Regions from separate parts of the Homo sapiens genome. Here region 2 is linked to region 1. Evidence: promoter capture Hi-C in 16 types of primary human blood cells and fetal thymus (Javierre and others, 2016). All regions are on one chromosome and are shown on one strand. Each heading gives the region's core, a stretch centred on a gene start or on the middle of the fragment in contact. The rest is flanking DNA. Distances are from core to core; before and after follow the strand shown.

The links. The method cuts DNA at HindIII sites, captures the fragments that hold promoters and counts their contacts. A CHiCAGO score of 5 or more calls a contact.
Region 2: a fragment that was not itself captured here is called in contact with the fragment with the promoter of MPP7 in region 1 in 1 of 17 cell types (monocytes); the score reaches 5.4 in monocytes.

Annotation. Positions count from the first base shown.
Region 1 is chr10:28,299,011-28,305,244 of GRCh38, reverse strand. It overlaps MPP7 (MAGUK p55 scaffold protein 7), which reads left to right and starts at 2,181. Exons shown (of 17, transcript NM_001318170.2): 1 at 2,181-2,384. MPP7-DT (MPP7 divergent transcript) reads right to left here and starts at 2,076. Exons shown (of 2, transcript XR_930772.3): 1 at 816-2,076. RefSeq lists a silencer at 1,995-2,634. The HindIII fragment of the contact is 2,637 bases long and covers 1,263-3,899 here.
Region 2 is chr10:28,393,949-28,399,831 of GRCh38, reverse strand. No RefSeq gene overlaps it. Among named protein-coding and RNA genes, the nearest start is that of MPP7-DT, 94 kb to the right of the region's middle. The HindIII fragment of the contact is 7,853 bases long and covers 1-5,806 here.

The sequences.
Region 1 (6,234 bases), core at 932-3,431:
CATGATACCCATGCTGGCTTTCTCTCTGTTCCTGCTATACATCACTTTTCTTCCTACTTCAAGTCCTTTGTTCTTGCTATTTTATCTGCCCTGGAGTTTTGCTAAGTTGGTGTTTTCTTATTTAGGTGGTGCCTCAAATCTTAGAGCATTTCTCTTAGATCATTTCTCCTTAAAGCATTTTTCTCCTTTCCCAAAATTAAGTGTGTCTCCCATCCCTCTGGTCACTGTTTTCTTCTTTGCCCTGATCCCGGTCTGGAAGTTTATCTTTTTATTGGATCATTGTCCATCTTCTGATAAAAACAGCTGCAAGTCTGTCTTGTTCAAGGCTATACTCTGAGTGCTTAGTAGAAAGCCTCGTTCATTGCAGTATCTAGTATTTGATGATTAATATTGATTACGTTTGATGAGTAAATGAATAAAAGAATAATCTTAGACATACATTATTTAATCCCAGTGAAAGAATGTTAGTGATGGAATTTCAGGTGTTATTGTAGAAGAAACTTTTGAAGGGTATTCCCTACAGTTTGTTCATACTAGGCTAAGTTCCTCTTCTTTTCCTTACACAATGTAAAAATATTAGATCTCAAAACTATTTGCTCAAAGTACTTACTTTAGGACACGTATTTTTAGACTACAGTTTAGAATTACAGTTATTATTAGAAAGGTTTGGTAAAAACTCTTTTTGTTAGGCAATAAGGTTATTCTGTCCTCCAAAGACCTTTACTTTATTCTCAGGAAGTAAGAGAGAAAAAAGAATTTCTTGTCTTCTTTCTATCAGGTGTTTTGCCCTTACTTCTCTTTAAGTTTATGTTTACCTTAACATTCCTTTCCTTCCTCAGGTTTGCTTTTTGTCTATCTCCATTTTTCACTATTACGTAATTCACGGAGTTGCTGGGGGGAAGTGCTTAATTTCAAATAGCCTGTTTTAGAACTTTGCGAGAATGACAAGAACAAACAGAATGTTAAGGCAGCTAGAGAGAGTTAAGTGAGAGTGGTCCCTAGGTGAGAAATGCTTCTTGCCTTCTAGGCTGACACCAGTTCTGGGGGATGTGTTCTGAGAGCTCATATTAACTGCAGGTCATTGATCCTTATCTCAATCCCCTTCCTCTCCCTTCAGCTTTCCATTCAAAGTCTCTATCACATCTTGAAGTGTTGTCACATTATTTTTTTTCTGATGATTCCCTCCATCAGCTGAGCTTTCCAATTTATATTACCTGATTTTTTTTTGTCTTCTGCTTTTTACTACCCCTTTTTCTAAAGCTTTATTGATTGTGTACTTTGGATTCTAATTCTTCCTATAAGAGTCTTCCTGTAATTCTGTTTGCAGTGTAGTGCTGTCCACATTATGTGTTGGTTACATGATAGGAAGGAGTATGGGGGCACCTCGGTCACATATGTAAAGTTCTTTAAGAGAGCTGAAGGGCGCTGATACCAGTTCATGTTTTTTCGGGGTAGCCCTCAGATATTAAGCATGTTTACTGTATTTTCTTCTATTGTGAAAGAATCAGTTCTCTGGATTTCCTTAAAGTTTGTCTTTACCATTCTCCGCACCCTACTCATTTTTCTATTTAAGAATTTTTTTTTCTAATCATGTAGTACATGTTCAATATGGAACACAAAAAGGTAATAAGAAAAAGTCACCTACAGTGTCGCCAAAGGTGAAAACACCTTATGTCTTTTTTCGTGCATAACAATATCCCTCTCAATCTTATGCAGCATTTTTAAACCTAGGAGACTTGTCTGAATCCAAAGGAAGTTAAAGATTACGTTATTCACCAAGTTCATACTGAAATCAGAGAATCGCAGCGGCTTAAGAAAACTCGCATCTGGCGAATGAACCTGCGTATCCGGGGTTCTCCTCAGGGAGGTTGCTCGTCCATGAAACACACTCCAGTCTGCAGCCACCTGGGAGTGGGAACCAAGGGCGAGCGAACCGGGCGGGCAGGGGTGGAACTTGCGGGGACTGCGGGTATGAGGAGGAGCTACAGAGCTGTCACCAATCAGAGCCCAGCTTTGTTTTCTCTTGCCGACCAATGAGGGAGTTCTGCTGGAGAGGCGTCTTCAAGTCTGAGACGCCTATCGCCTTCGCAGCCTATCAGCAGGCCCCTCTTACCCGCGGGCGGTGCAGCCCCGCCCCGCCCCTCCAACCGCGGTCCCGCCCCTCCGAGGGTGGGGGCCGTGTTGGTTACTAGCCGGGCTGGAGGCGGGGGCCGGGCTCCCACTGGGCTCGTGCGTTCTGCGCCCGCCGCGGCGGTGCCGAGCCCGCTGGCTCCCGATTGTCCTCTGCGGCGGTGGCGGTCGCTGCCTCCTTGCCTCCGGGCCCGGGGCTGCAGGGGCCAGAGCGAGTGCGCCTCCTGCCCGCGGACCGCGGCAGCCCAGAGCAGGTAATGGGGCGCCTCTGGGGAGCGCCTGTCGGAGCCCAGGGCTAGGCTCGGGCGGTGGGGTCGGCCCCCGAAGCTGCTCCCTGCGCCGGCGACCGGGCCGAGCGGTGCCGCGGTCCTCCGGAGCCTCCTGCCGGCCTCTAGGCGCCTCAGCCTGGGAGCCCGCGGCGGGCACCTTGTGAGGAGGTGGGGGCGGGGCCGGGGCAGGGGCGGGGCCGCCTCGGGCGGGACCCTGAGGACCCCTGGAGACCCCTGTTGACGCGCGGGACTCCGGGCGGGGGCGGCGGCGGGGCAGACCCAGAGCGGGGAGAACCGACAGGTGGAGGAAAAACTGCGGAGTTGAGTCAGAGTCCGGCTCCCCGGGGAAAAGAACCGACTGAAAGGGAGCGATAAGCTGGCTGGCTTCTTTTTTTTCTTTCCCTAAGCCAGAAAGGCGTCTTCACTTGGGTCGTGTTAATTACATGTTTTCTGAGAACAGGCGTTTGGCCGTGTAATCTACACGATAGCATTATTTATTTACTTATTTGCTATTTAAAAAATTAAAAGCAGCATTTAGCGTGAATCTATTTGGGGGCTTTTTCTTAAGTGACAGGTAGACCCAGCCGAGTAACTCAGCTTTGTCTGGGCTGAAGTGGGGAGCGGTGAGGTAGGAATGAGGGGGAGGAGTGTTCGTGAGGAATGCCTGTGCAGGTTTGAAAGGATTGTGGGGGTGGGACCTTGTTTCTGTCACTGTGCCATGGGTGGGAGTAGAATTGTGATTTTTTTCTTTTTCTAATTTTTAAAAGCAATATTCACATTTAAAAAAGGGGGGGCTCTCTAAAAACAGTCTCTGTACTCGAGGCTTTGGGGATGCACCTGCTAGTCAGGCAGTAATAGTTTGCAGGTAAATCCTGGGCTATTAATTACGTAATTTGATTTACTTATAAAGAAGTATCTTGAATTGTTGCTGCCTTTCCTTTGACTTGCTCAATATATTGCTTGTTTACAAGTGAATTGATGAAGGTCACTGAGTTTTAGCGGTAATGTCACAGCGATGGCCCTTGGAGAGTTTTCTATGCTCAGGTTCACTCTGGTTCTATAAAAACAGTATTTCCATTTAATCGTGAAGCTCATAGCACTCTATCAATTATATAGTATGCCATCCTCCTACTCTTCTGAGGCAGGCTGTGCATAGCATGTCCATTTTACAGGTATGTCAACTGAAAGCCCTAGAAATGAAAGGAATCCTGCCCCACTTTACTCCTACTTTATTTTATACCTATAATGGATTTAATCCAAAATCTGGGTAAGATTCCCGCCATCAAGCCAACTTCTGCATACCAATTTGATCCCGTATACACAGGTCAGAGGTGGAGATGGTTATTTTCAAGTAAAGAAATATTATCTGCGAGGTTTTTCTTTCCATTCAGGTTGCTTAGCTAGTTTGAATTTCAGGTGAAAGGTAATTTTCCACACAGGCAAAACAAACAAAAGTTAGGAATGCTGTGTGAAAATCTCTATTTTAAATTTTGGGAAGCTTTCCAAATTAGAGAACCTTATTTGTGTTTGCATCTCTAGCTCAGCATTGAATTTCGGTACCTTTTTTTGAATTGAATAGAAATAATTGATATGCAGAAGGAAAATACTAATGAAGTGTAATGCATTTTGATCATGACTTATGACTTTGTTTCGGGAAGTGTTTACTGTAAATTTATAGACGGATTGAAGAATAATTTCTTAATTAGAATAACTTGACCAAAGGAGTTTGGGCATTAGTGTGGGACAGGCTGAAATGGGTAGTTGGGAGTAGCCGCTTGTATGATGTTAAGGCTTAGGGAATTCTAGAGAATCGTTAGGTTTTGTTAAATTTACTAGTTATCAGGAACATGAAAATGTCTTATGGATTACTGAATGGAACTCTTTTTTTTTTTTTTTCTGAGGTGGAGTCTCACTCTGTTGTCCAGGCTGGAGTGCTGTGGCTCACTGTGATCTCTGCCTCCCTGGTTCAAGTGATTCTCCTGCCTCAGCCTCTTGAGTAGCTGGGACTACAGGCGCATGCCACCACGCCCAGCTATTTTTTTTTTTTTAATATTTTTGTAGAGATGGGGTTTCACTATGTTGGCCAGGCTGGTCTCGAACTCCTGACCTCAAGTGATCTGCCTGCCTTGGCCTCCCAAAGTGCTGGGATTACAGGCGTGAGCCATTGCACCCAGCCTGAATGTAACTGTTCTAATCATGAAGTTATCTCTTGTTTTGTGGCTAATACCTCTGTTTCACATGTACATTTTAACATATTCATGTAACATATAAGGCAACTCTTCTTACACAAGGCTGTCACTCTAGCCCAGCATTTATTTACTTATTTATGTTTTAGTGGCTTTATTTAACTTTTACTCTCCTGTCAAAATTTCTAGCACCCAAGCAAAAATTTCCATAAAGGAACTTTTATCATCTGTTGATTATACAGAAAATGAATCATTTATTCTCATAAGCCCAGCCCTCTTGCATTGTGGGACACTGGAAAGATATTTTGGCTGTTTGTAAAGTATTTGCTTGTATTCTTACCTGAAGCTTTGACTTCTCCCCCTCCCCCAATGGTTTTCAGAGTTTCTGTGACTTTTTTCTTTAAATTAATTATGACACTACCTGACTTCCACTAGATGGTGCACTGGGGGGCGCTTACTGGAGATTTCAAACAGATTTTTGTTTTTCCTTGTTATAAACATTTCACTGACAAAGATACAAAGGTACTGCAGCTGTTTCTCTCCTAATTGCAATTCAGACAAAATTGTAATGAATGACTTAAGTCTTGAGTTTTGGCCAGGCATGGTGGCTCACGCCTGTAATCCCAGCACTTTGGGAGGCCGAGGCGGGCGGATCACAAGGTCAGGAGATTGAGACCATCCTGGCTAACACGGTGAAACCCTGTCTCTACTAAAAAATAGAAAAAATTAGCCGGGCGTGGTGGTGGGCGCCTGTAATCCCAGCTACTCGGGAGGCTGAGGCAGGAGAATTGGCCTGAACCCAAGAGGCAGAGCTTGCAGTAAGCTGAGATCGTGCCACTGCACTCCAGCCTGGGCCACAGAGCGAGACTCCGTCTCAAAAAAAAAAAAAAAAAGTCTTGAATTTTGTTAAATGAGATACATTCGGAAGGAAAGGGTATTCCTTCATTTTGAATTTAAAGTGAAGGAAATTGTTAGTCAGGCTTGCTCTCTGAAGATACTGTGTTTTTTACAAACTGAAGGTTCGTTGGCAACCCTGCAAGTCGATTGGTGCTATTTTTCCAATAGTGTATGTTCATTTTGTGTGTCTCTGTCATATTTTGGTAATTCTCACAATATTGCAAACTTTTCATTGTTATTCTGTCTGTTATGGTGATCTCTGGTCAGTGATCTTTGATGTTACGATTCTAATTGTTTTGGGGCTCCATGAACTGCACCTATATAATATGGTGAACTTAACTGATAAATGTTACATATGTTCTGATATCTCCACCAACTGGCCATTCCCCAACTCTCTTCCTCTCCCCAGGCCTCCCTATTCCCTGAGACACAACAATATTGAAATTAGGCCAATTAATAACTCTACATTGGCATCTAAGTATTCAAGTGAATGGAGAGTCGCGTGTCTCCCACTTTAAATCAAAAAGCTACAAATGAGTGAGCTTAGTGAGGAGGTCATGACAAAAGCTGAAACAGGCCAAAAGCTAGGCCTCTTGCACCAAACAAGCGAGCTCTGAATGCAAAGGAAAGGTTCTTGAAAGAAACTAAAAGTGCTACTCTGCTGAACGTCCAAATGATAAGAAAGTGAAACAGCCTTATTGCTAATATAGAGAAGGTTTTAGTGGTCTGGATAGAAGATCAGACCAGCCACA
Region 2 (5,883 bases), core at 631-3,130, 95 kb before region 1:
ACTCTATTAATTGTAATTATGTAATGTGATGTAGTGATCGGTTGTGATCTACTCATCTTTTGTTGCCTTTGCAAACTTCAGCATTAATGAACACCCTGAGATGTTACTCTAGAAGCATCTGACTTGGAGGATCCTGATTAACGGTTGCCATCAGGAATCTGGTGATCACAGTGAGTAAAATGAAGTAAGGAACTCCACTTCCAGAAAGCTGCTTTGACAAGGCTCCCCTCTGCCTGGGTGGGCCACACATCACCGATGTATAACCCAGAAGAGCTGGATAATTCTCATCTGTGACCTGACCCACATCATCATTTACTCTGTTCAAAGACAAACATGGAAATGATGGAAAAATTTGGAACCTCCTAAAATTGCCCAGACTGTGAAAACTCTGGTCTTAAAAACATGAAAGAAAAAAGCAACATGAATCAGCAAAGCTGATTGCCTTGTCGTGGCAATAAACAGCCCCACAAATTGGTGTCTGTAAAACTGGTGTTGGTTCCTCCTCTCGTCATGTGGCCCAGCCTTGCCTGCCATCCACCACTTCTCTGGTTAACACCAAATCCAAGCGTACCCACTCCAGGAAGTTTACTCCCATCATGTCAGTTAAGGCCATAAAAATCAATTGCAGAAGCAAGGCTGAGAGGAATGCCTCTTGCTGCACAGATTTTTAAAAGTAATTATTCAAATAGATGTGGAAAACCAGTGATAAAAGAAAAACTTTAGCTGAATTAAATTTAAAGCAGTTTAATTGAGCAATGAATGAGTCATGAATCGGGCAGCCCCCAGAATCACAGCAGATTCACAGAGACTCCAGCGCAGCCACATAGTGGAAGAAGATTTATGGACAAAAAAAGGGAAAGGACGTATAGAAATTGGCAGTGAGGTACAGAAACAGCTGGATTGGTTACAGGTTGGCATTTGCCTTATTTGAACACAGTCTGAACACTTAGCAGTGTATGAGTAGTTGAAGTGCGGCCACTGGGATGGGCCAAGACTCAGTTATTGTTAAGGTGCACACGCCTAAGTTAGGTTTTCATTCTTGTCTGATTATTAAGCTAGGTTACAGTTCATCCACAAGGACTCAAATATAGAAGTACAGAGTCCTGGCCAGGCGCGGTGACTCACACCTGTAATCCCGCACTTTGGTAGGGCGAGGCGGGTGGATCACCTAAGGTCAGGAGTTCAAGACCAGCCTGACCAACATGGTGAAACCCAGTCTCTACTAAATACAAAAAATTAGCCAGTCATGGTGGCTCATGCTTGTAATCCCATTGGGAGGCTGAGGCAGGAGAATCACTTGAACCCGGGAGACAGAGGTTGCAGTGAGCCAAGATCACGCCATTGCACTCCAGCCTAGGCAACAAGAGCGAAACCGTCTCAAAAAAAAAAAAAAAAAATGGAGAAATACAGAGTCCTTCTCAGGCCATATTTGGCTTGCTTTAACACCAGGAAGAGAATGATGCTAATCATTTCATTAAGAGTTCATGTTTCCTCAGACAACCTACAGAATGGGAGAAAATATTCACAAACTACAGATTCAACGAAGGTCTGGTATCCAGAATCTATAAGGCCCTTCGGTAGTTTAACAAGCAAAAAACAACCCCATTAAAAAGTGGGCAGGCCAGGCACAGTAACTCATGCCTGTAACCCAGCACTTTGGGAGGCTGAGGCAGGATGATTGCTTGACCCAGAAGTTTGAGATCAACCTGGGAAATATAGGGAGACTCCACTCTTACAAAAAAAAATTAAAAATTAGCCAGATATATAGCCACCTATAGTTCCAGCTACTTAGGAGGCTGAGATGGGAAAATTGCTTGAGCCTGGGAGGTCGAAGCTATGGTGAGCCATGATCATGCCACTGCACTCCAGCCTGGGCAACAGAGTGAGACCTTGCCTCAAAAAAAAAGTGGGTGAAAGACATGAAAAGACACTCTCAAAATAAGACAAAGAAGCAGCCAACAAACATGAAAAAATATTCAACATCACTAATCATCAGAGAAATGCAAGTCAAAACCACTATGAAATACCATCTCATACCAGTCAAAATGGCTATCAGAATGGCTGTTACTAAAAAGTCAAAAAATTACAGATTTTTGTGAGGATACAGAGAAAATGGAACGCATATACACTGTTGGTGGGAATGTAAATTAGTTCAGCTCCTGTGAAAAGCATTTTGGAGATTTCTCAAAGAACTAAGAACTACCATTCTATCCAGCAATCCCATTACTGGGTATATACTCCTCCCCAAAATAAATTGTCCTACCATAAAGACACATGCATTTGTACATTCATTGCAGCACTATTCACAACAGCAAAGACATAGAATCAACCTAGGTGCCCATTAATGGTGGTCTGGATAAAGAAAATGTGGTACATATACACCATGGAATACTATGCAGCCATAAAAAAGAGCGAGACCATGTCCTTTGCAGAAACATAGATACAGCTGGAGGCCGTTATCCGAAGTGAATTAATGCAGGAACAGAAAACCAGATACTACACGTTCTCACTTATAAGTGTGAGCTAAACATTGGGTACACATGGACGTACAGACGGCAATGATAGATACTGAGATCCAATAGAGCAGGAATGGGGAGAAAGGGTACAAACGCTGAAAAACTACCTATTGTGTATTATGCTTACTACCTGGGTGACTGGATCAGTCACACCCCAACTCTCAGCATCACACAATATACGCAGGTAACACATCTGCACATGTACCTCCTGAATCTAAAATAAAAGTGGAAAAAAAATGTTTTTTGAGACAGAGTCTCGCTCTGTCGGCCAGGCTGGAGCGCAGTGGTGTGATCTCAGCTCACTGCAACCTCTGCCTCCCGGATTCAAGTGATTCTCCTGCCTCAGCCTCCCAAGTAGCTGGGATTACAGGCGCCCATCACCACGCCTGGCTAAGTTTTTGTATTTTTAGTAGAGATGGCGTTTCACTGTGTTAGCCAGAATGGTCTTGATCTCCTGATGTCATGATCTGCCCACCTCGGCCTCCCAAAGTGCTGGGATTACAGGTGTGAGCCACTGCGCCCGGCCAAAAGTTGAAGTTTTTTAAAAAAGACTTCACATTCCCAAGTAGGGAACATGACTTGATGAGCTCTCTAAAGTGCCTAACACGCCATAGGCACTCAACAAAAATCTAATTAAAATATCTAGACATTGAAGGGAAAATTCATTTTTTTTTAGACATAAGAGAACACAGCTGTGTTTGTGGTCTGTTGACTGTCTCAAGTTATTTTGAAAGCATTTTGTTTTGGTAACAAACTTGGCAGGTTCTCTTTCCCCTCGTCTTTATATCCATGTGTATTTAAAGGAGAATTTAATCCATATGTTCCTGATTCAATTATACTTGACTCATCCCAGTATTGCTTTGTGCGAGTGATTTGAACGCCAAGAATTTTGCAAATTTCCTAACAAACTCTGAAGTTTTGTTTTTTTGTTTTGTTTTCCAAGAACTAAGAAATTTGGTTTTGTTCACTGAACATTCTGAGAGTTGTTTTAAGGAAGCACGTAGACTTTCACTTATCACTGTGTTAGTATTTAGTTACAACTTGGGATGATGAGTTGTGAAAATGATGACATGAATATAGCTGCATTAAATGTTGATTATTGGCTGGGTGTGGTGGCTCATGCCTGTAATCCCAGCACTTTGGGAGGCCAAGTCAAGTGGATCACCTGAGGCCGGGAGTTTGAGACTAGCCTGGCAAACAAGATGAAACCCCGTCTCTACTAAAAATTCAAAAAATTAGCCAGGCATGGTGGCACACGCCTGTAGTCCCAGCTACTCGAGAAGCTGAGGCAGGAGAATCGCTGGAACCTGGGAGGTGGAGGTTGCAGTGAGCTGAGATCGTGCCACTGAACTCCAGCCTGGGTGACAGAACGCGACAATGTCTCAGAAAAAAAAAAAATGTTGGTTATTTAGTATTCCTATTACATAACTGTTCAAAATGAAATTGACCCCGAAATTAGATCATCGTGGGAATTATTAAACTCTTACAAGCTCTCAACTTGGTTCAAATCAATTGAAAATATCGAGCATCAATCAAGTGCAAGTCACACTGCTCTCATAGCAGACGAATTCTGGAATGTCTGCCTCATTCCCAAATTAAATGCCCTCTGCCACTCCACCTACCCCCCACAATACACAAGGGGGCTTCTGGCATCCTGGTTGATTTTTTGACTAAGTGGGCACTTAACTCAAATGAGGCTTGCCAGAATCACCTGTTGATAATTTAAATTGGGAAAATAGAGAAAGAGAGAGAGGCAGGGAAGGAGAAGTAGTGGAGGAGAAGAAGGAAAAGAAGGAAGAGGAGGAGGAGAAGACAGTGGAAGATAAAAAGAAAAAGAGATTAGTTTGTTTATGTGACTTGTAGCTGTACCATATAAATGTGAGAGCAAAGAGTGGGCATTTTCTGCCATAAAGTGTGTGGCCAGAGTAAGTCATAAGCCAGCACGCAAAGACAGAATGAACCAGAAAAATCAATGCATATATTTAATGCATTATTTTTCTCCAAAATCTGTTATAATCAATGCACTTTAGAATGTGAGAAATTCAACTGGACGTGGTGGCTCACACCTGTAATCCCAGCACTTTGGGAGGTGGAGGTGGGCAGATCACTTGAGGTCAGGAGTTCGAGACCAGCCTGGCCAACATGGTGAAACCCTGTCTTTACTAAAAATACAAAAGTTAGCCAAGCGTGTTGGTGCACACCTATAACCCCAGGTACTTAGGAGGCTGAAACAGGAGAATCACTTGAACCCAGGAGGCAGAGGTTGCAGTGAGCCGAGATTGGGCCACTGTACTCCAGCCTGGGTGACAGAACAAGACTCAAGAACAAAACAAGAAACAAAAAACAACAACAACAAAAAATCCAACAACCCCCCAAAACAAAAGAAAATGTTGCCAGGTGTTACCAGTATTTAACACTGAGAGTTAAAGTTATAAGTTATTTTTACTTCTATTATTATTATTATTTTGTTAGTAGGGTTGGGGTCTTGCTATGTTGCCCAGGCTGATCTTGGACTCCTGGCCTCAAGCAACCCTCTCACCTCGACCACCCAAAGTGCTGGGATTACAGGCGTGAGCCACTACACCCGGCCTTTTTACTTTCTTATTTAGACTTTTTCTATACTTGGTGAATTTTTTTACAATTAGAAAATCACTTGAGTTGTTTCCTTCCGAGCAAAGGAAAAGGATCTATAAATGTGAGCATAAAAAATGTGAACAAATGACTTCTCTATGGGTCACAGGGTGAATTAAATAGGGTTTACATTTTCCCAGAAATTAAAAAAAGATTCGTCAGACTATGATTTTTTAATGAAAAATTTTAATATTATATAACTTTCCCTTTACACCAAGTTAAAAAAAAAAGTCGTTATGTTGAACAAGCAAGATTCCTGGGGTGTGATCTGCAAACACTTTCATTCTCCCATGCCCCACACCATCTGCTCATGCCCATTCTGTGGGGGTAATTTGTGGGTTCTTCAGAGCCCTCTCTCACAAGCTGTTCTCTAGATTCATGCAGAATTGCATCTTATGTCTCTGATTCTGGGAGGACAGATTTAGCCTCCCTCTGATAAGATCTCCTGGCCCCAAAGGATTTAAGAAAACCCCAGGTGGGCTCTGCGTGGCCACATCTGGCCCATAGAATACGCTCCCCTTAGATCTGCCACTAGAGGGCGCACAGGCACTTCCCAAACTTACCTCTTCCCCTGCCAAGGATTTTCAGCTACGCTGTTGCCTGTAGATTACTTTTGAAGCACACATCAAGCTCCATCTGTATGAGACAGTTGTCAAGCTTCCCATGTGGTGGAGAGACGTTCACAGCACATCCGTCATACCCTCCAGAGACACCTTGTTTAATCTCTACCTGCAAG